7 separate regions of the Homo sapiens genome follow, and regions 1, 2, 3, 5, 6 and 7 are each linked to region 4. Evidence: promoter capture Hi-C in 16 types of primary human blood cells and fetal thymus (Javierre and others, 2016). All regions are on one chromosome and are shown on one strand. Each heading gives the region's core, a stretch centred on a gene start or on the middle of the fragment in contact. The rest is flanking DNA. Distances are from core to core; before and after follow the strand shown.

Region 1 (3,306 bases), core at 200-2,699, 480 kb before region 4:
ACTCCGCGTCCTTCTGGTGGGTGGCCTGCCCGCGTGCCAGCGTCTGTCATGTCTTCTTCCGCCAACATGTTCCTCTGGATGTCCAGCGGCTTGTGTGTCTGCTTGCTAGGGTCTCAGAGTATTTATAGGGACAGGATGGGGGCGGGAACAGGATGGGGGCGTGGCAGGCCAGGGTGGTCTTGGGAAACGCAACATTTGGGCAGGAAAACAAAAATGCCTGCCCTCACCTAGGTCAGTTGGCACAGGGCCAGGGGTGGAGCCCTAGCCAGGGACCACACCCTCCTGTACCCAGCACCTCCCTTTCCCCCTTCCATATCATTTAAAGGGACCCCGCCCTTCCCTCCCCAGCACTCCCCTTCCCCACCTCCTTATCAATGTCATCACCCTGGACTGACTCCAGGAATCACTGTAATGTGGGCTTAATAAGAACAGAGCTCGGCTGGCCGCGGTGGCTCACCCTGTCATCCCAGCACTTTGGGAGGCTGAGGCGGGTGGATCGCTTGAGCCCAGGAGTTCGAGACTAGCCTGGGCAAGATGGCAAAACCCCATTTCTACAAAAAATATACAAAAATTAGCCAGGTGTAGTGGCGCGCCCCTGTAGTCTCAGCTACTCTGGAGGCCGAGGTGGGAGAATCACTTGAACCTGGGAGGCAGAGGTTACAGTAAGCCGAGATAGCGCCACTGCATTCCAGTCTGAGCGACAGAGGGAGACCCTGTCTCAAAACAAAACAAAAACAAAACAAACAAAAAGCGGAGCTGACAGTCAAGGTGAATTTCACGTTTGCCTGTATTCAGTTTTAGCATTACATAAACCAAAAGAAGAATGCCATAAAGGCTACAGGCAGCTAATACAGAGAGGTGTTACTGGAAAAGGAACCAGAAAGAGTAAATATCTCCTAAACGTATGATGGGACAGAAAGATAAATGCCTATTACATATAGTTAATATCTGTTTGATTAGCCTTATTTACATTCTCCTTTTAAAAGGTCTTACATTTAGCATCTTAGATAGAACCCACAAAATTTAAATATTTAATAGAAACTTAAAATTCCTGTATCAGAGGACAGAAATATATTTTTCTCACACGTGATTAGTCTAATTGCCACTATTAATCCTATTAATATTCTGTTAAATAATAGCATTTCTGTAGCGAAAAGCAAACAGTACGGAAAGATAATTTCAAACACCTAGTTTTCATATTTTTGTGTTAAAGTAATAACATATTTTGGTATAGATTATCATTTTTTGTTTGTTTTTGTTTTTGCTTTTTCTGACCTGGTGTGTTAATGCCCTGGGTTGGCCCTCTAAGAAGCTGGCCACCTACTTCGGGCCTCAGGTGTCAGACGCCCCAGCTTCGAGGTCTATGGCTCCCAGCAACTCGAGCGCCTGCGCCTGCGCATTCTCAGCCGGACGGGAGCGCCCAGAAGTCTCCGGGCGCCGGTGGGCGGCCTTGTGGACTGCGCCGGGCATGCTCGGCGGTGTGACGGCTCAGGACTGCATTTCCCAGAGGCTGCAGCTATCCGGCCAATGTAGCCTGAAACTACATTTCTCAGCGGCCACTGGAACGACCTCAATCTCTGCCTCCTCGCCAGTTCATTGTGGTCGTTGACCCGGCAGCGAGCTTTGGAGTTCATCGAGGGAGAAGTCAGCGCCCAGCTCCGAGGTTGGAGCAGCCCCGCCGGGCAACTTGAATTTCTGCAAACGAACACAGCACCGGGAGCTCTGCAGACCTGTGTCGGCGCGGAACCCGGACTGAGACATGCGTGAGCGTTGGGTGGACCGGGCGAGGATCCCGGGCCGGCGAGTGCGGGAGCGGCAGGGCAGGGAGGGTGCGTCGGCCGGGGCCGGTGTGCATCCGCGAAGACTGGGTGCATGGCCTCCATGCGAACCTGAGCTATTAATATTTGTTACTATTTTGGATAAAATCACTGTAATTGATTTATGTAAAGGAGCAAAAGACTCTTCAACTCTCAGTTTAAAAAGGAAACGATAGTTATGATACCTTTTGCATGCAGCGGGAAGAAATGGGATTGCCAGGAAGCCTCTTCTTGTTTGGAAAAAACTGTATAAAGTATTTACACCTTTTAAAGATGAGAGCAATGTCATCTGAAAATTATCAGTGCAGGGAAAAGGACTTCAAAGGATCTGTTGTGCAGATTACTTAACTAATGACAAAATTATGTAAGAAAGGAGAGCAAGATGACAGCTGTAAACATTTCCATCAATCTCCATATTGCACAGAAATAGGACCCAGCTTTTTCTTAAGGTTCTTCAATTTTGCATTATCCCACAGCAGTAGCTCTCTCTCTCTAGCTGCTAGGGGACAGAGGAAATTGAAATGTCAGAGAATCTTTTCTGTTGGTTTTTTATTTGTTTGTTTTTAAAGAAGAGTTGCTCTTAATTTTTTAGTTAGAATTAAAAGAAAGCATGCCAGAGAAACTTACGTTTTAAGTAAAAAGTGGAAACAGGTCGGGTGCCATGGCTCATGCCTGTAATCCCAGCACTTTGGGAAGCTGAGGCGGGTGGATTGCCTGAGCTCAGGAGTTCGAGACCACCAACATGGCAACATGGTGAAACCCCGTCTCTACTAAAAATATAAAAATTAGCCAGGCATGGTGGCGTGCGCTTGTAGTCACAGCTACTTGAGAGGCGGAGGTGGGAGAAGTGCTTGAAGCTGGGAGGCGGCGGAGGTTGCAGTGAGTGGAGATGGCACCACCGCAATCCAGCCTGGGCGACAGAGCGAGATCCCTTCTCTAAAAAAAAAAAAATATATATATATATATATATATATATATATATATAGATAGATAGATAGATAGATACATAAATTAAATTAAGTGGAAACAAGTGTTTAATTAAAATGAAATAAAGGATGTATAATGTTTACGTAATAACTCCAATGCAGTAGTGCCCCCTTAATCGGCAGTTTCACTTTCTTCACTTTGTTACCCTCAGTCAACCATGATCTGAAAATAGGTGATTTTGGTACAATAAGATATTTTGAGAGAGAGGGGCCATGTTCACATAACTTTTATTACAGTATGCTATTATAGTTGTTCTATTTTATTATTAGTTATTGCTATTACTCAATTATGGTGGCCGGGTGCGGTGGCTCACGCCTGTAATCCCAGCACTTTGGGATACTGAGATGGGTGGATCAATTGAGGTCAGGAGTTCGAGACCAGCCTGGCCAACATGGTGAAACCCTGTCTCTAGTAAAAATACAAAAATTAGCCAGGCGTGGTGGTGGGCACCTGTAATCCCAGCTACTTGGGAGGCTCCCAGGAGGTGGAGGTTGCAGTGAGC
Region 2 (3,115 bases), core at 386-2,885, 380 kb before region 4:
ACCTCTGCCTCCCGGGTTCAAGCGATTCTCCTGCCTCAGCCTCCTGAGTAGCTGGGACTACAGGCATGTGCCCCCACGCCCAGCTAATTTTTGTATTTTTAGTAGAGATGGGGTTTCACCATGTTGGCCAGGATGGTCTCGATCTCTTGACCTCGTGATCCGCCCACCTCGGCCTCCCAGAATGCTGGAATTACAAGCGTGAGCCACTGCGCCCGGCCTTTTTTTTTGAGACGGAGTTTCGCTCTTGTTGCCCAGGCTGGAGTGCAGTGATGCGATCTTGGCTCACTGCAACCTCTGCCTCCCGGGTTCAAGCGATTCTTCCTCAGCCTCCCAAGTAACTGGGATTACAGGTGCCCACCACCACTCCCAGCTAATTTTTTTTGTATTGTTAGTAGAGACGGGGTTTCACCATGCTCGTCAGGCTGGTCTCGAACTCCTGTCCTCAGGTGATCTGCCCCCCTTGGCCTCCCAAAGTGCTGGGATAGCGGGGGGCGGCTCACATCTGTAATCCCAGCATGGTCAACATGGTGAAACCCTGTCTCTACTAAAAAATAAAAAAATTAGCCAGGCATGATGGTGCACACCTGTACTCCCAGCTACTTGGGAGGTTGCGGCAGGATAATCGCTTGAACCCGGGAGGCGGAGGTTGCAGTGAGACGAGATCAGCCACTGCACTCCAGCCTGGGCAACAGAGCCAGACCCTATCTCAAAAAAAAAAAAAAAAAAAAAAAAAAAAAAAGAACATAATGTCAGGTAGTGAGGCTGCTGTGGAAAACACTCAACAAGAGGTAAAGAGTAAAGGAGGTCAGGTTAGGAGCGGGGAAGGCAGTTTACCCTGAAGGGACACAGAAGACCTGACGAAGGTGACATTGGAGCCATGGAGGCCCACGGAGAGGGGCGGGGCAGGGGGGGAGAGCCGGGGCAGAGGGGAGAGCTGGGGCCAAGGCCCTGAGGCAGGAACGGGTTCCCTGTGTTGGGAACAGCAGGAGGGCCTGAACAGCCAGAGTGGAGTGGGAGGAAAGAGGGGTAGAAGGTGACATCAGGGACATAAATGGGTGCAGGGGATCACGAAGGGGTCCTCCTCCTGAAACAGCACCTCCAGATTCCCGGGGCTGCTTCTCTCCAGGGTGCCCCGCCTGCTTGGGTGAGGTCCGGATTGTAGCTGTAGTCCTAGCCTGACGGCCCCCCACCCTCCTCTAATGCCTACTTGGGGTCCCTGCACATTGACCCCCAGGCCTGGATATCAGGGCTCAGGGGAGATAACTTGGAGGTTCGCCCTCTGGAACTCCTGAGGATGACCTCCATCATTTGAAGTCGGAAACCCGGCCCCCAAACTGCGCTCTAAGTCCTCCTGTGACTCTGGGGGTGACCTTTCCAGACTCCCTGGGAAGGTGGGGGGGGGGGGGTGGTCCTCAGAGCCCCAGCGGGGTCGGAGACACACAGACCACCCTCCCCGTTCCCAGAAGTCGCGGTCCCTGCGCCACCCGGAGAGGCCGGTGCAGCGGGCGCCTCCCGGGCCGCTGCGGCAAAGGCTGGGCGGCCGCGCCTTCCCCCCGCGGTGATTCATCCCGCCCCCTCCCTCTCCTCCCTCGTCCCTCCCTAGGCCGCCGCCGCCGCCGCCGCCGCCGCCGCTGCAGTGCGCAGGAGACCGCGGTCCGCGCCCGAGCGCGCCCGAGCCGGAGCGGGACCGGGGTCGGTGCACCTAGCGGATGTGCCCGGCTGCGCGCGCCAGCGCAGCAGCCCGAGCAGCGGCCGCCGCCCGCGCGGCGGGGATGCCCGGACGCCGGGCCCCGGGGCTGGGCCCCCGGCGGTAACCGGAGCGGGGGGGCCGCGCCCCCCCTCCTCCCCCCTCGCCGGTCCCAGAGCCGCAGCTGCTGCGCCCGCGCGCTCCCGGGGACATTCTAACCGCCGCCAGGTCCCGCCGCCTCTCGCCCCGCTATTAATACCGGCGGCCCGGGAGGGGGGCGCAGCACGCGCCGCGCAGCCATGGGGAGGCTGCTGGCCTTAGTGGTCGGCGCGGCACTGGGTGAGTGCGCGGGGGGCGCGCGCGGCCGGGGGGCACCGCGGGGGCACTGGCGGGGCGGCGGGAGTGGCGCTCGGGACACGGGGCAGCCGCGCGAGGGCCACCCCCGGCCCATCCCCGGGCCCCGCCAAGTCAGCTTCAGAAGTTGTGCGCGCGGGAGCCGGGCTTGGGGAGGGCAGTGGAGGTGAGGGTGGGCTCCAGCGGGTGGGGGCCGGGCTGGCACAGCCTGGCGGCTGCAGGCGCCCAGCCGGGGGCGAGGAAACGCGGAGTCAGCTGCTCCCGGAGCCCCGCAGGCTGCAATGTGACACCCACAGCCGCGGGAGGGGGGTGGGGGGAAGGCGGCGCCCGGAGACTGGGACGGGAAAGACGGAGGGACAGGGAGAGATGAAGACGGGAGGAAGGGGGCGAGAGACAGAGAAGGACTCGGAGCGCACCGGAGTGGTCCGCTGGGATGCTGGGGACATGGGGGTCAAGGGGGAGACGGAGACAGAGAGAGGGGTATTGGAGAGAGAGAGAGAGAGAGAGAGTTAAGAGACTGAGCGCGATGGAGAAAGGGAAACTTGAGAAAGGCAGAAGGAGATGGAGAGAAGAGAGAGGGAGATGCGGGTGCCCGTGAACACCGGGAGAGAATCTTGCATGGAGTTTGAAAAGGGATAGACGTAGAAAGGTGGAAAGAGATTAGGAGAGGTCTCCTTCTGAGCCCAGAGAGTGGACAAAAAGTGGAGGGACCTTCAGAGAGACCCCTGAGAGGGACAAAGATAGGAGGGACTGAGACAGAGGCCCTCAGGGAGTCTGAAAGGGACCGCAGGGGAGGCGGATGGATGAGAAGTCCTGAGGATCAGGAAACAAGGACAGCACAGGGCTGCAGCAGAAGAGACACAGCGTTAGCTACAGAGTGCTGGGAGGCAGAAAGGAGGTGCCAGGTAAGAGTGTGAAGGAATTCTAAGACTGGAATTCAGTGGGCTGCAAAAGCCCTGGGGCAGGAGAGAGCTCAGGAAAGCTTTGAGTAGTGGATGGGGTTGGGGTGGGAAGAGCTCTAGAGGCGAGGAGCCTGGGGAAGAGGGGATGATGGAGGCAGGAGAGGCCGGGGAG
Region 3 (3,342 bases), core at 659-3,158, 450 kb after region 4:
TTGGAAATGCTAGTTTTCTCCCTACCTCCCCAAGACCCCCGCCAATATCGTTCCCAGGAACAAGATGAGGCATCTGGCCTCAGCCCCCAGCTTCATCCTCGATGCTGGACTTCCATCTTCCCTCACATGCTTGACTCCTTGCCCTCCTCCCACCTCCCCTCTCCCAACTGCTCTCTACACCCCCTGGGAAATGGGCTGGATGCCGAGCTGGGGGAGTGGCTCTGTCCTGGGGGCCCTCGCCAGATGGTGTCCCTAGGTGCCAGAGCGTGGAGCTGTCCCTTGCTGGGGCCTTTAATAAGCACAAACCTTCCACCCTCCACCTTGGCTGTTTTCCTTCTCTGCATGCTCCTGGGACCTTGGGCTCTCCATCTTTCCATGTCCGTAGCCCCAGAGAGCCAGGAAGGGGAAGCGGCGTCAAGTGCCTGGAAAAACAGCCCCATGACTTGAGTTCCTCCCTAAGACTCAGGAGTTCCAGCCCCATGTCCATCCTATTTCAAAATCCAGGCACTAGATAAGCCACACAGAAGCCGGGAGTGTAGGCCCCCAGATCCCTCCCCTCTCAGACCCTGGGGTCTCAGTCCCTTCTCTCCAAGGACTCGGGAATTTGGGCCTCTGATCCTCCTGGCCACACTACCCACCCCCGCACCTCCCCATACACACACACACACACACACACACACACACACACACACACACACACACACATACACACAGGACTTAGGACAGATGTTCACGGTCTGATTTCCAAATCCTCCTGGGCCTGTGTGGGGGTGGGGAGAGATTGGCAGATAGATCCACCGACTCTTAAGACTTAAGACCAGATATTCTGACCCCTGTCACCCTCTTCCAAGTGCACCATGCACTTGAGTGCACCTTGAGTCTCCAGCCTCTCAAGGAACCGGGAGATCAGGCCATCAGCGTCTCAGCCAGCAAAGGCCTGAACCACCAGTCCCTTATAACCCTGTAAGTCCAACCCCCACTCCCAACCCCACTCCCCCATTTAGGGACACGGAGTCTGAGCCTAAGAACAGTGGAGAATCTGAATGTGGACCCTCCAGTTCTTACAGGTCCAGGAATGTCAGATCAGGGTCCCAGCCCCCCAGCCCTCCTTCAGGCTGCTCGGGGTCCCTCCCACCTGCTCGGCCAGCTGCGCAGCGTGGGAACGCCCCAGCTGGGCTGCATGGAGCCGTCAGGACAAGCTGCGCGGTTCCCAGCCTCCCTGCCTGCCCCGGCCCGGCACCGCCGCCTCCCAGCCGTCGCCGGGCAACCAGGCCGAGGGGCCCGGCCGGCCGAGTGGGGAGAGGGGTTGGGCTGGGACTGCGGGGTCCTGGGAAAGGAGGGGCCGAGGGCCTGGATTCCTGGGTCTTAGGACGTGCTGTAGTTTGCAGCAATAACAAGGGAACAGAGGGATATTTTGAGGAGGGGTTTTGAGGCTGGGGGAGTCGAGGTAGGGGTCCCAACTGTCCCCCAGGTATCGGTGTGCCCTCTTCCCGACACGCAGGCCCGGGGGAGCCCCGGACCCCGCATCCCCCAGGGCGCGGAAACTGGCGAGGCCCCAGGAGCTCCCATTTATAGCTCAGTTTCCACTGAGCGCAGTCCCTCTAGGACCTGGGCTGAGCAAGTTTCTTCCACTCTCTCCCTTCCCTCCTCCTCACCCCTTGCCTGCCCCTCAACCCCGGCAGGGCGCAGGTGTCCAACCCAGCCGGGACCCCCTCCCTCCTCGAACCCAGGTGTTCCGGCTCCCAGACCCCAATTGAGCTGGGGGCGCCCACCCGCCGGGGGATCCCGCCCTGCGTCCCCCATTCATCCGCGTCTCAGCCGCGGGAGTTTCTCAACGGGAAGAGGGCGGAGCTCCCGGGGGGCGGACCCGGGCGGGGCGAGCGGGATCGGGCCCTCTTGGGGTCTCCCAGAGACCCAGGCCGCGGAACTGGCAGGCGTTTCAGAGCGTCAGAGGCTGCGGATGAGCAGACTTGGAGGACTCCAGGCCAGAGACTAGGCTGGGCGAAGAGTCGAGCGTGAAGGGGGCTCCGGGCCAGGGTGACAGGAGGCGTGCTTGAGAGGAAGAAGTTGACGGGAAGGCCAGTGCGACGGCAAATCTCGTGAACCTTGGGGGACGAATGCTCAGGATGCGGGTCCCCGCCCTCCTCGTCCTCCTCTTCTGCTTCAGAGGGAGAGCAGGTACCGCACGAGGGGAGCGGAGGAATATGGGGTGGGGGTGGGGAGTTGCTTGCGGGCTGCCTCTTCACTAGCGAGAAGGGAGCTGGGGGCTGGGACTCCTGGGTCCTGAATGAGGAGGCCCCTGAAGGTGCTAAGCTCAGCCCTGCTGCCCCGAACTCTCCTAGGCCCGTCGCCCCATTTCCTGCAACAGCCAGAGGACCTGGTGGTGCTGCTGGGGGAGGAAGCCCGGCTGCCGTGTGCTCTGGGCGCCTACTGGGGGCTAGTTCAGTGGACTAAGAGTGGGCTGGCCCTAGGGGGCCAAAGGGACCTACCAGGTAAGAGTGTTCTCTCCACGCTGGGACGGGCTGGCTAGGGGGAGAGTTGCTGGGCTCGGCTGTACCTGCAGTTTCTATTTTGACATTTTCAAGTTTGGGAAATTGATGGGCTCGGGTAAACATTTAGGAGTCCTGATTTTTGAGCTGCTTCTTTGGGGGTGACCCACGGAGTTTGGGAATTATTATGTTATTGCAAAATAGTACATAGGCCAGGTGCAGTGGCTCACGCCTGTAATCCCAACGCTTTGGGAGGTTGAGGCCAGAGGATCGCTTGAAACCAGGAGTTTGAGACCAGCCTGGGCAACATAACAAGACCTTATCTCTACACAAATGTATATATATATTTTAAACAAATTAGCCGGGTATGGTGGTGTGCATCTATAGTCCCAGTTACTCAGGAGGCTTAGGTGGTAGGATTGCTTGAGCCTAGGAGTTCAAGGCTGCAGTGAGCCATGATCAAGCCACTGCACTTCAGGCAATGGTGAGACCCTGTCTCAAAAAAAAAAAAAAAAGAGAACATAAATGCAAAAAAGTACAGTAAATATAAATGGAAGATTTACCAAATAAAATAGACACACACAGCCAATACCCAAGTCCATTGCTAGCTCCCCAGAAGACCCCGTGTTCCTTTCCCCTATCATAGCCCCCTCCCCCTCACTCCAGAAGTAGTATCTAACCTAATTTTTATGGCAATCATTTTCTTGCTTTCCTTCCTGACTTTATTACCCCTAAGTTTGCAGTGACTCTGGGTTGGGAGGGAGTTAGAGTCTCTCTGGGCCCAGTACACACTTTTTAATAGTGTCTTACCACCAAATGTGTGGGCCAGTTTTCTGGTGGAGGATGTCTGGGG
Region 4 (3,331 bases), core at 417-2,916:
AAATACAAAAATTAGCCAGGTGTGGTGGTGAGTGCCTGTAATCCCAGCTACTCAGGAGGCTGAGTCAGGAGAATGGCGTGAACCCAGGAGAATGGAGGTTGCAGTGAGCCGAGATCGCCTCTGCACTCCAGCCTGGGCAACAGAGTGAGACTCTGTCTCAAAAAAAAAAAAAAAAGGAGAATTCAGACTAAGCTGTTTTGCAGCATCCCAAGGCTGTGTTGACCTCACGTACAGCTGCATCATGGGAGTGGGCGGTGCGACATCTCAAGTCCAACTCAACCGAGCCATGGTTCAGGCTAAGTTCCCGCTGGTGCCCCTACCTGGAACGCTCTTCAGATAGTGGCTCCTTCTCACCCATTCAAATGTCCCAGGCCTTTCCTGACAGGCCCTGCCCATCTCTCTCTCTCTCTCTCTCAATTTCCCTGCTTGCTTTTTGTTGTTGTTGTTGTTGTTGTTTGATTTTTGGTCCTTTTTTTTTTTTTTTTTTGAGGCAGAGTCTTCCTCTGTCGCCCAGGCTGGAGTGCAGTGGCATGATCTCGGCTGACTGCAATCTCTGCCTCCCAGGTTAAGGTGATTCTCCTGCCCCAGTCTCCTGAGTAGCTGGGATTACCAGTGCCCGCCACCATACCTGGCTAATTTTTGTATTTTTAGTAGAGACAGAGTTTCACCATGTTGGCCAGGCTGGTCTCAAACTCCTGACCTCAAGTGATGTGCCCGCCTCAGCTTCCCAAAGTGCTGGGGTTACAGGCATGAACCCCACCACGCCTAGCCGATTTATTTTCTTTCCCTTTTTTTTCCCCCAGACAGGACCACTGGATTGGAGTGGTGCCATCATAGTTCATTTTAATTTCCAACTCCTAGGCTCAAGTGATCCTCCCGCCTCAGCCTCCTGAGTATCTAGGACTACAGGTGTGCACCACCATGCCTGGCTAATTTTTTATTTTTATCCTTTTTTGTAGAGACAGGGGATCTCACTATGTTGCCCAGGCTGGTCTCAAACACCCAGCCTTAAGCAATCCTCCTCCTGCCTCAGCCTCCTAAGTAGCTGGGATTATAGGTGTGAGCCACCATGCCTGACTTTTTATCTCACTTTTTGTAGAGACGGGGTATCGCTATGTTGACCAGGCTGGTTTTGAACTCCTGGCCTCAAGCAGTCCTCCTGCCTGGGCCTCCCAAAGCGTTGAGATCACAGACGTGAGCCACCTTGCCTGGCCTACTTCCTTTCTTCCTGTAAAATTGCCTTGTTGGTTTGTCTACTTGTTTTCTGTTCATCCTGTTCACTCTTGTCTCCAGCTCCTAGAACAGTACCTCACACAGAGTAACGGCTCCATGTGTTTTGTGACAGGGAAGCAGACAGTGTGGCTTGTTGGAGAGGAGCCACATACCCCCGCCCCCCGATTCATACATGGTGTGACTCAGCCCGAACCATTGCTCAGTTGAGTTGGATTTGAGATGATGCACTGCCCACTCCCGTGATACAGCTGTGTGTGAGGTCAGCACAGTCTTGGGGTGCTGCCAGACAACTTAGTTTGAATTCTCCCTTTGACTCATTGGAACCTAGACCTCAGCACCAAAGATGTCCCCATACCAGTAACCCGGGCAACAGAATGCAGATAAAGGACAGGAGACAAAAGGCGCAGGTTCTGACACATTCTTTGCTTGTGTCATCAGCTAGCAAGTATTCACAGGCACATCCAACCTCCATCCTTACATTCCACAAGGATTTGAGTGTCTGTTATAGGCAAGGGACAATGCTAGGTTTTTTTTTCTAAAAACAAACTTGGGGCTGGGCATGGTGGCTCACACTTGTAATCCTAGCACTTTGGGAGGCCAAAGCGGGTGGACTGCCTGAGCTCAAGAGTTCGACAACTCTTGGTAACATGGTGAAACCCCGTCTCTGCCAAAAATACAAAAAATTAGCCAGATGCAGTGGCGTGCACCTGTGGCCCAGCTTCTCGGGAGGCTGAGGTGTGAGGATCACTTGAGCCCGAAAGGTGAAGGCTGCAGTGGGCCGCGATTGCACCACTGAACTCTAGCCTGGGCAACAGAGTGGGACCCTGTCTCAAAACAACAACAACAAAATAAGAAAGAAAGAAAGAAAAAGCGGAAGTGAGAGATGGATGTGCGTGTAGTCGTGTGGGATAATTGCCCATGGGAAGGAAACAGAATTCAACCTCTTGGAATGTAGGGGGAGGAGGAAGCCTGAAAAAACTGTTCAAATTTGGATTCTGGGCTGAGCACAGTGGCTCACGCCTGTAATCCCAGCACTTTGGGAGGCAAGGCAGGCGGATCACTTGAGGTTCGGAGTTCGAGACTAGCCTGGCCAACATGGTGAAACCCTGTCTACAAAAAATACAAAAATTAGTCGGGCGTGGTGTTGCACACCTGTAATCCCACTACTTGGAAGGCTGGGGTAGGAGAATCACTTGAACTAGGGAGGCAGAGGTTGCAGTGAGCTGAGATCGCACCACTAAACTCCAGCCTGGGTGATAGAGCAAGACTCTGCCTCAAAAAAAAAAAAATTGGACTCTGGGTGAAATAAGTCTGTTGGGGACAAAATCTGGTGGGAGACCCAGAAGGTCAAGCTGCTTTAGAAAGAGCTCAACCACTGACTTTCCTCTTTTTGACCACATGACTCTTCCAGGTATAAAAGCCTGCCGTTGGTGGAAAAGGAAAAGGTGGTCCAGTTAGACAAGATGCCACCGGCTTCTGAAACCAGACATCTTTGAAAACCCACCCATCTACCTGCAGGAAAAGGCAAGGGACCTGACCTCGCCTGGGCTCAGGGAAGAGGTTGCTGGGATCATAACCCCAGGAAGAGACGGGATGGAAGGAGAGCATGCAGGGAGCAGAGGACAGGCTACTCTCCAAGGAGGAGAGGGAAGAGGCCACAGAAATGGAAAAGGGGCCAGGACAAGTCAGTGGAGAGATGGTCAGGGCCTGGCGAGGAGGAGCAGGACAAAAGCGGTGGAGCTCAGCCCCGTGGCGGCAGGGCCACTCCCATTCATCTGGTCCTCTACTTCTGAAGTTCTCGAATGCAGAATGAGATGTACAGATGGGCCAGCAGGTGATATGCTATCTGTCATAGGTTAAGGCCTCATTATTTTATTCATTTTTAAACTTTTTTTTTTTTGAGACAGGGTCTTGTTCTGTCGCCCAGGCTGGTTTGCAGTGGTGCCACCATGGTTCACTGTAACCTTGAAGCCCCTGGGCTCAAGTGATCCTCCTGCCTCAGCCTCCAGAGTAACGAGGACTACAGGTGCACACCGCCATGCCCAGCTAATTTCTTAACGTTTTGTAGAGAAAGGCTCTCACTGTGTTGCCCAGGCTG
Region 5 (3,187 bases), core at 301-2,800, 500 kb after region 4:
TTGACAGAGTTTTCCTCTTGTTGCCCAGGCTGGAGTGCAATTGCGTGATCTTGGCTCACTGCAACCTCCGCCTCCTGGGTCAAAGGATTCTCCTGCCTCAGCCTCCCAAGTAGCTGGGATTACAGGCATGCGTTACCACGCCCAGCTAATTTTGTATTTTTAGTAGAGACAGGGTTTCACCATGTTGGTCTCGAACTCCTGACCTCAAGTGATCCACCCGCCTCTGTCTCCCAAAGTGCTGGGATTACAGGTTTGAGTCACCGTGCCCAGCCCCTCTTCACACATTTTAAGCTGACCATAAGCTTGTGGTTGATCATTCGGCCCAGTTTTGGACAGATGTCCCATGTGCCTTCAAGGTTTGGGGGTGCTTTAGGCAGAGTGGCTTTGAGGTCCCTCTGATGGCATGAAGGAGTATCTGGGGCAGATATCCCTGGCAGGAGTGAAATGTGAGGAGGACAGTCTGGTTTTCTCACCTGATAAGGCGACTCGGTCTCAGTGATACGCTGTTTCCGGGTCGCTGCTGGAGGTGAGGGGTGTTGTGGGGTGCAGAGACAGGCAGAGTGGTGAGTTGAGGGTGTTTTGTCATTCCAAATCAGCACCTCCATTACCATCCCTTTGGATGTTTGAGATCTGGGAGTTTACCCAGCCCCCCACCCCCATCTAGGCAAGTCCTCAGGATGTCCCCTGCTAGCCCCACTCACCCTCCGCAGCCCCTCGCCCCCGAGGGACCAGCCGGCCCAGGAAGTACACGGCCAGGGCAATGAGCACTGTCAGCACCAGGTCTCCCATCACGATCCCTGCCAGCACGCCCGGGCTCACCGTAGAGCAACTGCAATCTGCAGCACAGGGGTCAGGGGAGGTCAGTGTGTGCTGGGAACTGTGGGGAGGGGGGTCAGCGGCAGGGAGGTTTGGAAAGGGTGTGGGAGAGACGGAGACAGGGAGGTCTCTGGGAGGTAGAGAGAGGGACTGCTGGGTCTAGGCCTACCGCTCTGGGCCTGGGCCTGGACAGGACGGAGACCTGAGGAGGAAAAAGAAGGTAAACTGAGGCACAGAGTTATGACGGGGGTGGGGGAGGCAAGTTTAGAAGCCAGGGAAGGTGGATCCTGACAGCCAAGAGGTTAGCAAGGGGGAGAGCGTGTCTGGCGGGACTCAGGGGGCTGGCGTCTGGGCCACCGGACTATGTGCGTTACTTCTGCACAACTTGTCCTGTGGCAACACACTTAGATGTCTCTTCTCCCCTGCTTGTAGCGGACGACAAAACTTGGGGGCTTGGGCTCTGGGAGAAACCCACAGGCTTTGGGAGGTTGGGGACCTGCTCCCATCCCAACACCCACTTTTGGTTCTCTCGTTCCACCCCACTCCCTGCCCTGCCCCAAGCTGAGCCCAGGGACCCGGGAGGCAGCCACGGAAGCCCCTAACTCACCACTTACAGCCAGCAGGAGAGGCAGGAGCAGGAGCCTGCTGCAGGGTTCAAGTCCCCCCATGAAGCCGGATGCTGCTGGACACCACAGTGTAAGGGCCGGTGGGATGTGGCGCAGCGTCCAGGCAAGTGAAGGAGGAAGTCTGAGGCGGGTGGTGGCAGAAGGGAGGAGGAGACAGGGGAGGAGAGACAGAAACAAAACCCAAGAAAGAATCAGGCCCAGACACCCAGGGGCCATGCCACAGGCCCCCAGCAACTAGACGTGAAGGGCAAAGGGTACGTGAAGCACAAACTTCACCTCCGTCCCCAGTCAGGGGTCAGACATCGTTTTAACAGGAGGGTCAGTGTCATGACCTTCCTCTGGCTGATTGAAACCAGCTCTGCCTCTTCCTGGCTGGTCAACCTTGAGTGCAATGGCACGGTCTCGGCTCACTGCAACCTCTGCCTCCCGGGTTCAAGTGATTCTCCTGCCTCAGCCTCCCAAGTAGCTGGGATTATAGGCGCCTGCCACCATGCCCGGCTAATTTTTTGTATTTTTTTTTCTTTTTTTTTTAGTAGAGACAGGGTTTCACCATGTTGGCCAGCTGGTCTCAAACTCCTGACCTCAGGTGATCCACCCACCTTGGCCTCCCGAAGTGCTAGGATTGCAAGTGTGAGCCACCGCACCCAGCTCCAACCTCAGTTTCTTCATCTGTAAAATTGGGAGTAAAATGGGACCTACTTTTTAGAGTTGTGGGGATTAAATGAATTAAAGTTCCTAGACCAGGGTCTGACCCTTGTCAGCTTTTTAAAAGCATCAGCTATGATGATGATTATTTAATCATCAGAAACTTGTGCTGTTTAAAGGATATTAAAAGAGCCAGCAGCATGTGGGCACTAATGACATGCAGGCACTCTGTCCCAAGCGTTAAATCATTCAGTCCCCGCAATGCCCTTCTAGGGCACATGCTCTTATCATCCCCATTGTTCAGAGAGGTAGAGACGCTTGCCTAAGGCTGCACAGCAAATCAAGGTGGAAATGGAACCCAAGACCCAAAATCAGGTTTTTGACTAGGGAAGAGTCAGGGGGAAAAACAAAGATGAAAGATGGGGAAGGAGAAAACAGCGGCAAAGCTGAGAAAGGTGAGAGTAAGGCAGTGGCACAGACACAGAGGCACGGCTGGCGGCTTGGGGAGAGGCAGGTGGCTGGCTCTCCTGCTGAATGAGGAAGTGGCTGGGAGCAAGGCCCAAGGGAGGCCACCCCAAGGAGACGGGGACTTCTAGCCCCCAGCTGGAGCCTGGGGCTGGGGAAGGAGGAACCTGAGGTTAGGGTGCTGGAGGATGAGACAGCTGCAGGAAGCCCCCCTCCCCCATCCACACGTCACACCCACCGCTCCTTGGGCCTGGGCTTAGGAGAAAAAAGGGGAAACTGGATTCTGGTCACAGGGCAGATGCCCAGTGGCCTGTGGGGGAAGGGAGGAGAGGAGATTTGGAGCCTGGAGGAGGGTCAGGTCCCAGCTCAGCCCACGGTCACCACTGTTCAGGCCTGGCTGAGTCCCCTCCCTTAAAAACCCAAGCCTCTCCCATTGTGTCTAGAGCGAGCATGGAGGGAACAGACCCTGTAGGTCCTCCCGGGCACACCAGGCCACCCAATGTGTTGGAGCAGAGTGGGCGAGGGGGCAGTCAGAGACCAGAGCAGGGCTCTGAGCCAGGAGGGCCCTGACCTGACTCAGGGGTTCACAGGTTCCCTCCGGCCGCAGGTGGGGAGCAGACTGTGGAGGCAGGGAC
Region 6 (3,240 bases), core at 574-3,073, 410 kb after region 4:
CTTTGAAATGCACCAAAAAATAAGATGGATTGATGGATGGATAGAGGAATAGAGGGATAGATATGATTTAAAGTGAGTATAGTTAAAGGTGGCGGGGGCATGGATGTTCATGTACAATTCTTTTTACTTTTCTGTATATTTGAAAATTTTTATAATAGAATATTGGGGAAAATATGCCCCCCACGAATGGTATACACCTGGCAAAACAAAATCATAGAAACAAAAAGATATGCATTATACAAGACGGCAGGCTGGGTGTGGTGGCTCACACCTATAATCCCAGAACTTTGGGGGGCTGAGGCTGGGGGATTGCTTGAGGCCATGAGTTAGAGACCACCCTGTGCAATACAGTAAGACAAAGAGAAAGAGAGAGAGAGAGAGAGAGGAGGGAGGAGAGAGAAGGAAGGAAGGAAGGAATAAAGGAAGGAAGGAAGGAAGGGAGGGAGGGAGGGAGGGGAGAGAAGGAAAAAGAAAAGAAGGAAGGAAGGAGAGAGAGCAAAAGAGGAAGAGGAAGGAAGGAGAGAGAGAGAAAGAAAGAAAAAAAGATGGAGTAGGGTTGAAAGAGAATGTGGAGATAAAAAGGAATTAATGATTGAATGAACAAACTAAGACCCCATTGGCCTAATCAGAACTTACACCCAGCCAGCTCACACCCATGCAGCTGTGTTGACTGAGAACACACTGATGTACCTCCTTCTAATTGATAAACAGCTTCTATCCCAATCCCTCCTCTGAGAGCCTCCAGCCTCCAGGCTCCTCCCTGAGAACCCAGATGACCCTGATTCCATCCATTTCAACCATGCCTGGGAGCTACAGCTGCACTTCTGCTGGCTGTTCCAAGCCTGGAGGTGGCCGTAGCATTTTGAACATCTGGCGTGCGGTGTGGCCGCATCTAAGTCCAAGGCACTCTGTCCCCGACAGTCCCGCTTGAGATCCTTACCTGCCCAGAGTCCATAGCTTCAGCCAGCCTCTCGGGGCTCAGCTCCAAGGAGGCTCCTGGCCTTCTGACCCACGAGGCTAGCTCCTTCTGAAATGGGGTGGTAGGCGGGGTGGTGAGGGGAGCCCGATGGGCAGCCGCGCCCTCCCCGCACCCCCGTCTTTGCACTCCTTACACAGAGCCGAGTACTGGTCAGCGCCGTCACCTTCAGCTGCATGAGGCTGGCCTCAGCCAGGCTGGGGGGCTCCAGGAGGCCCCGTGACAGGTCCACACACCGCAGCATAGCACCGAGGTTCCCCTCATACCACGCCTCACTGCCCAGCCAGCAGGTGTCAGGGCCCGAACAGCAAAGCCCCTTCCTGCGTCCTCCCAGCCTCCCTGGGCCCTGGCTCCCTACTCACCCACTCTTGGCAGCAGAGTCCGGCTCCTCCTCAGTGGGCACTGCCAGCAGTGGTCGGAGGCTGAGGGTCCGCAGCTGCTGCACGCAGCCCTTCACCTCCTCTGCTGTCTCACCAGCCACAAACTGCCCATAGACGGATGCTCGGAGAAATGCGCCTGAGAGCCGGGAGCCCAGGAGTCGCCGAGACCAGGCCTGGAGCTGGGTGACAGGGAGCGAGGGCTCAGCGCCAGGCTATGAGGAGCCTCCAGGCTGGTCCTCAGGATCACTGCTCACCAACAGCCCGTGAGTGACGAGTGGGGGCCAGGCACACAGCCGGAGAACCAGCAAGGCCCGTGTCAGCTCTCCTGTGCCCTTAAGGTGGAAGGCCCCGCCATCAAAGCTCAGGGACTGCCAGCCCCTGGAGGGGGGACCAGCTTGGGAACAGAGCACGTAACAGGTCCGGAGCATCCTGGGTCCCTGGCTGCCTCCACACCAGGGAAGGTTCTCTGGAGGCAGCAAGTTCACCAACTGCCCCTTGCCCAGACCAGGGGCAGTGACTGATTAACTGGGCAAAGCCTCAGGATCACAGGCTCCTTGGGGGCAATTAATTATTAACAAATGGGGACAGAGTTCAGAGTAACGGAAACGGGAGGTGAACCCCAGTAACAGCCCCCAAGAATGCTCAGCACAACAGCCTGCACTTATTAGGTAACCACCATGTGCTGGGGAAAGCAGGGGCTCCGGAGCAAGGATCCCTGGGCTCAGGACACCGGGCTTTGTGATCCAGGACAGGCTACTTAATCACTTTTGTGGCAATTGCTTCCTCTTAAAATTGGAAACGCTGTAGTGTTATTGAATACATTTGAAAATACGGTTCTCACGTTTGTAATCCCAACACTTTGGGAGGCCAAGACCGAGGAGTTTGAGACTACCCTGGGCGACATAGTGAGACCCCATCTCTACAAAAAATACAAAAATTAACTGTGTGTGGTGGCACACACCTGTGGTCCTAGCTACTCAGGAGGCCGAGGAAGGTGGATCTCTTGAGCCTGGGAGGTCAAGGGTGCAGTGAGCTGTGATTGTGCCACTGCACTCCACCCTGGGTGACAAAGTGAGACTCTGTCGCCAAAAAAAGAAAAAAGAAAAGACAAATAACCTATATAACCCAGCTGTTCCATGCTAAGTACATATCCTAGAGACCTTAAACATGGACAGCAGGAAACATGTACAGGAAAGAATGTTCAGAGGAGCAGTGTCTGAACTACCCAAATGTCCATCAAAAGGAGAATGGATACATATATGGTGGTGTAGTTATGCAATGGAATACTATACAGTAATGAAAAAGAATGGATACTGATACACACAACTGTGTGGCTGAATCTCACAATGTCAAGTGAAAGAAGCCAGACACCAAACAGGGCAAGCTGTATTATTCTTTTTTTTTTTTTTTTTTTTTTTTTTTTGAGACACAGTTTCACTCTTGTTGCCCAGGCTAGAGTGCAATGGCACAATCTCAGCTCACTGCAACCTTCACCCCCCGGGTTCAAGCGATTCTCTTGCCTCAGCTTCCAGAGTAGCTGGGATTACAGGCATGTGCCACCACGCCCCACTAATTTTGTATTTTTAGTAGAGACAGGGTTTCTCCATGTTGGTCAGACTGGTCTTGAACTCCCGACCTCAGGTGATCTGCCCGCCTCAGCCTTCCAAAGTGCTGGGATTACAGGCATGAGCCACTGTGGCTGGTCTATACTTTTCAATAAATATAAAAGCAAGGAAAGTGAAACTGCAGTAAAATGTTGGGAATACATGCGTGGGTGGTCAAACTATGAGGACAAGAAAAGTAAGGACATGATTATCACAGAAGTCAGAGAGGTGGTTGATTGTGGGGGATGGGAGGAATTGTAATGGGGTAGAGGGATATGGG
Region 7 (3,464 bases), core at 549-3,048, 310 kb after region 4:
CTCCTGCTCGGTCTCGGCCCTATGCGTGCTCTGTCTGTGGAAAGAGGTTTTCACTCAAGCATCAGATGGAGACGCACTACCGAGTCCACACAGGTATGGGCGCCCTGCCCTGTGTGAACTGTCGGCTTTCTTCCCAACTCCGCTCCTGAGTCTCCACCTGTGTGCCCGGTTCCCGCGCAATCCCCTAGCCCCGTGGCCCGATCCACCCCTAACTTGGCCAGCTTTCGCCGCCTTCTTCCTTCCTTCACCGGCCTCCCCTTCCGACCGCTCTAGGAGAGAAGCCCTTCTCCTGTAGCCTTTGTCCTCAGCGCTCCCGGGACTTCTCGGCCATGACCAAGCACCTGCGGACACACGGGGCCGCTCCGTACCGCTGCTCCCTGTGCGGGGCCGGCTGTCCCAGCCTGGCCTCCATGCAGGCGCACATGCGCGGTCACTCGCCCAGCCAACTCCCGCCCGGATGGACCATCCGCTCCACCTTCCTCTACTCCTCCTCGAGGCCGTCTCGGCCCTCGACCTCTCCCTGTTGTCCTTCTTCCTCCACCACCTGACGGGGTGTCGGTAGCGTCTTAGCCAAGAGTCCAATTAAAGAACGAAAAGCGGGCCGGCTCGGCTTCTGACCTGGCACCGCTGCTACGGCGGCCTAGCAAATTCCGCCCCAGAAGCGCCCCAGGAAGGGCGCCGAGTGCCCTCTCCTGGACGATCGCGGGTCGCAGAAGCCCAGGCCAGCGAGCCCTACAGAGTGAGGACACTGAAGTGTGCAGGAGCGAAGGTTAACAGTAGGGGAGATTGTCGATCTCATCACCATAATAAAGAGTTTCCTGTGCCCTCCCTTCAGGACTAGAAAGCCGAGTTTAGTCTGTGCACACCCCCGCCCACGCCCCTTGTCCTGTAGCGGCCCCTGGTGGCCCTGCGTCCGCTGTCCAGCGGGATGGACACTTCTTCCACCCCCGAGGCGCCCCGTCCTCCCCAGGAGGCAGCCGGCCCCGAGGACTCGGTGTCCGGGCACACCTTGCGGCATGCCGGTCCTGGACTGGTGGGGGCTGTGCGACCGCAAGTCACTCGCCCCTTCCACTGCAATCCACGGCGCGCGGAGTCTGATCTGGGAACGCTCGGCCCGGGAGAGAGAGGAACGCGTGCTCCGACCCTGCTTTCGGCCACCCGCCTCCTCTCCGGGAGCACACGGACCCCGAGACCGCGGCCTCTCCGGCGTCTTCCCTCCACACCGTGCCAAGCCGCCGCCAGGTCGCGCCTGGAACGGAGACTGACTATGCTTTCCACCGCTCCTTCTCCAGCCCACGCCTCCTGCAGCCGCGAACTGCATTTCCCAGGGCCTCGGGGGTCCCGGGGCCCGAGCCCGCGGCACCCTGGGAGTGGTAGTCCACGCGGGCCGCCGGCCTAGCCAAGAACAATGGGAGGAGCCTGGGGCTAGGACCACACCTCCCGGAGACCCGGCAACCCGCTTTCCGGGTCCTGGCCGGGAACCCCGCCGTCCCGGCCCTCGCGCCCTGGCTGCCGGCGGAAGAAGCGAGGCGTCCGGACTACATTTCCCGGAGGCCCCCGCGGTTCGCCCCTCTGCGGCCGCGACGCGGGGGTCTGTGCTCCCCAGGTGCGGTCCGAGGGCGCCGGCCGGCCGCGGACTCCCTCTCCCGTGGTGCCCTGCGCGTGGCCGGCCCGGCCCCCGGTCTCCCGCGGCGGCGCTGGTTGTTGTCGTGCGCCGCGGCCGCCCCGCCCCGCCCCCGCTCTCTCCCCTCCCCCCGGCCCTGCGCACGGGCCGCCCCTCCCCCCGCCTCCCCGGCCCCTCTCACGGTGCCAAGATGGCGGCGGCGGCGGGCGGCGGCAGTTGCCCCGGGCCTGGCTCCGCGCGGGGCCGCTTCCCGGGCCGGCCGCGGGGCGCCGGCGGGGGCGGGGGCCGCGGCGGACGGGGCAACGGGGCCGAAAGAGTGCGGGTAGCTCTGCGGCGCGGCGGTGGCGCGACGGGGCCGGGCGGAGCCGAGCCCGGGGAGGACACGGCCCTGCTCCGTTTGCTGGGGCTCCGCCGGGGCCTGCGCCGGCTCCGCCGCCTGTGGGCCGGCCCGCGGGTCCAGCGGGGCCGGGGACGGGGTCGGGGCCGGGGCTGGGGCCCGAGTCGAGGCTGCGTGCCGGAGGAGGAGAGCAGTGACGGGGAATCCGACGAGGAGGTGAGGCGGTTGGAGGCGTCCCCGGCGCCGGGTGGGGCGGAGGCCGGGGCTTCCAGGGGTCTGGGTTGTCCCGGGGGCGGCGTGGGCAGGCCGGGTCCTCAGGGTTCCTTCGGAGAGACGGGGCACGGAGGGAGGGCGGCTGCATGCAGCTTCCGGGGGAAAGGGCCTCTGGAAGTGGGTAGAGAAGCCCCGGCTGCAGCCAGGCACTCGCGCCCGATGTCGGTCCCGCTGAAGTGTCTTGGGCCGATCCTTTTCGGCAGCTGGCAAAGCTAGGGCGGTGGAGGTTTGGGCGAGGAGGCAGTGGGGACTGCATGTCCAGCCAGTCGTGGTTGACAGCGGCAGCGTGGCCTTGGCAGACAGGTTGGAGCTGTCTGGGCTCTTACCTGTGGGCCGCCCCGCCGGGCCTCGCAACCTCCTGGTTTCTCCAGGGCCCCAGTTTCTCTTGGCATCTCAGGTAGAGTGGTGGAGGGCTTCCTCTTGGGGCTCGGGTTGAACAGGAGTGGGATGAAGGCCGGGACTGGGCACTCTAGCAGGTCAGAGCTCAGCTCAGGATTTCTCCCCCAGCCTTTCAGAACAGGCAGGAAGGTGTGGGTTGCGTTGCCCTGGACGGTTAATAACAACCTGAGAGCTCGCAGTGGAGCCTGTACGAAAGCCATCTGATGCCCTCCCCGCCCCTTCACTTGCGGGCCCCTGTTCCCAACTTAATGCAGAAATAAATTGTGGCCCGAAAGGGTGTCAGTGGAGGTCCCACTTTGGTCTGAATTGGACTCTGAAGGAATCTGAGTATGGGGCCTGCTGCCTTTCCTGAGGAGACCCTGTCGTCTTCTCTCTTGGGCCAGTGAACCATGGCTTTGGCTGTGCTGGTGTGGTCCGGCACTGGGGATCGGAGTTCGAAATACCTGGCGCCTCCATCCCTAGGGAGAGACCCTCTCTTCCACTACCCGCGACCTTTGAGTCTTTTTCGTTCTTTTTAAATAGGCAGGGGTATGCTAAGTGGGAACTGGGGATATTCCTCGATACCTCAGATGGAACGAGGGCTTTGGCACTGACTGCTGTTTCTCCCCTCCACCCCGGTCCCCTAAATCAGGAGTTTCAGGGTTTTCATTCAGATGAAGATGTGGCCCCCAGTTCCCTGCGCTCTGCGCTCCGATCCCAGCGAGGTGAGTGACGGGGGAACTCCACCTCTTTAGCGTCACAGGAATTTATCCTCGCCCTTCGTGTCAGCTCTTCCCTGTTCAACTAGCCTCTGTCAGTTGCCGAATGTGTTCTGTGTTCAGAGTCCAAGCT

The links. Contacts are between HindIII fragments. The CHiCAGO score rates a contact against its expected background, and 5 or more counts as called.
Region 1: the fragment with the promoter of ZNF30 here is called in contact with the fragment with the promoter of LINC01531 in region 4 in 9 of 17 cell types (total CD4 T cells, non-activated CD4 T cells, naive CD8 T cells and 6 more); the score reaches 14.9 in total CD4 T cells.
Region 2: a contact is called between the fragment with the promoter of SCN1B here and the fragment with the promoter of LINC01531 in region 4, in 14 of 17 cell types (naive CD8 T cells, activated CD4 T cells, total B cells and 11 more). The highest score is 14.3, in naive CD8 T cells.
Region 3: a contact is called between the fragment with the promoter of KIRREL2 here and the fragment with the promoter of LINC01531 in region 4, in 16 of 17 cell types (neutrophils, M2 macrophages, non-activated CD4 T cells and 13 more). The highest score is 20.6, in neutrophils.
Region 5: the fragment with the promoter of TYROBP here is called in contact with the fragment with the promoter of LINC01531 in region 4 in 3 of 17 cell types (total B cells, endothelial precursors and monocytes); the score reaches 7.0 in total B cells.
Region 6: the fragment with the promoter of PRODH2 here is called in contact with the fragment with the promoter of LINC01531 in region 4 in 9 of 17 cell types (neutrophils, M2 macrophages, total CD4 T cells and 6 more); the score reaches 8.1 in neutrophils.
Region 7: the fragment with the promoter of KMT2B here is called in contact with the fragment with the promoter of LINC01531 in region 4 in 1 of 17 cell types (neutrophils); the score reaches 9.7 in neutrophils.

What each region holds. Positions count from the first base shown.
Region 1 is chr19:34,925,454-34,928,759 of GRCh38, forward strand. ZNF30 (zinc finger protein 30) reads left to right here and starts at 1,450. Exons shown (of 5, transcript NM_194325.3): 1 at 1,450-1,763. ZNF30-AS1 (ZNF30 antisense RNA 1) reads right to left here and starts at 1,373. Exons shown (of 3, transcript NR_110749.1): 1 at 1,276-1,373. The HindIII fragment of the contact is 20,354 bases long and covers 1-3,306 here.
Region 2 is chr19:35,028,835-35,031,949 of GRCh38, forward strand. SCN1B (sodium voltage-gated channel beta subunit 1) reads left to right here and starts at 1,636. Exons shown (of 6, transcript NM_001037.5): 1 at 1,636-2,026. The coding sequence starts at 1,987. RefSeq lists silencers at 1,606-1,765, 2,105-2,213. The HindIII fragment of the contact is 5,241 bases long and covers 1-3,021 here.
Region 3 is chr19:35,855,003-35,858,344 of GRCh38, forward strand. It overlaps KIRREL2 (kirre like nephrin family adhesion molecule 2), which reads left to right and starts at 1,909. Exons shown (of 15, transcript NM_199180.4): 1 at 1,909-2,178; 2 at 2,343-2,492. The coding sequence starts at 2,118. The HindIII fragment of the contact is 4,263 bases long and covers 1-3,342 here.
Region 4 is chr19:35,403,941-35,407,271 of GRCh38, forward strand. LINC01531 (long intergenic non-protein coding RNA 1531) reads left to right here and starts at 1,667. Exons shown (of 5, transcript NR_040046.1): 1 at 1,667-1,741; 2 at 2,645-3,331. The HindIII fragment of the contact is 14,783 bases long and covers 1-3,331 here.
Region 5 is chr19:35,906,745-35,909,931 of GRCh38, forward strand. TYROBP (transmembrane immune signaling adaptor TYROBP) reads right to left here and starts at 1,551. Exons shown (of 5, transcript NM_003332.4): 1 at 1,424-1,551; 2 at 986-1,018; 3 at 702-836; 4 at 474-520. The coding sequence starts at 1,484. RefSeq lists a silencer at 563-716 and enhancers at 2,528-2,657, 2,808-2,857, 2,958-3,067. The HindIII fragment of the contact is 5,164 bases long and covers 301-3,187 here.
Region 6 is chr19:35,811,022-35,814,261 of GRCh38, forward strand. PRODH2 (proline dehydrogenase 2) reads right to left here and starts at 1,824. Exons shown (of 10, transcript NM_021232.2): 1 at 1,611-1,824; 2 at 1,339-1,535; 3 at 1,113-1,251; 4 at 941-1,027. The coding sequence starts at 1,784. The HindIII fragment of the contact is 7,636 bases long and covers 1-3,240 here.
Region 7 is chr19:35,716,205-35,719,668 of GRCh38, forward strand. It overlaps KMT2B (lysine methyltransferase 2B), which reads left to right and starts at 1,799. Exons shown (of 37, transcript NM_014727.3): 1 at 1,799-2,177; 2 at 3,265-3,337. The coding sequence starts at 1,815. ZBTB32 (zinc finger and BTB domain containing 32) reads left to right here. Exons shown (of 7, transcript NM_014383.3): 6 at 1-93; 7 at 274-834. The coding sequence ends at 548. RefSeq lists enhancers at 352-911, 464-743, 2,031-2,588 and silencers at 1,314-1,793, 1,874-1,923, 1,944-2,013, 2,054-2,133, 2,184-2,233. The HindIII fragment of the contact is 14,363 bases long and covers 1-3,464 here.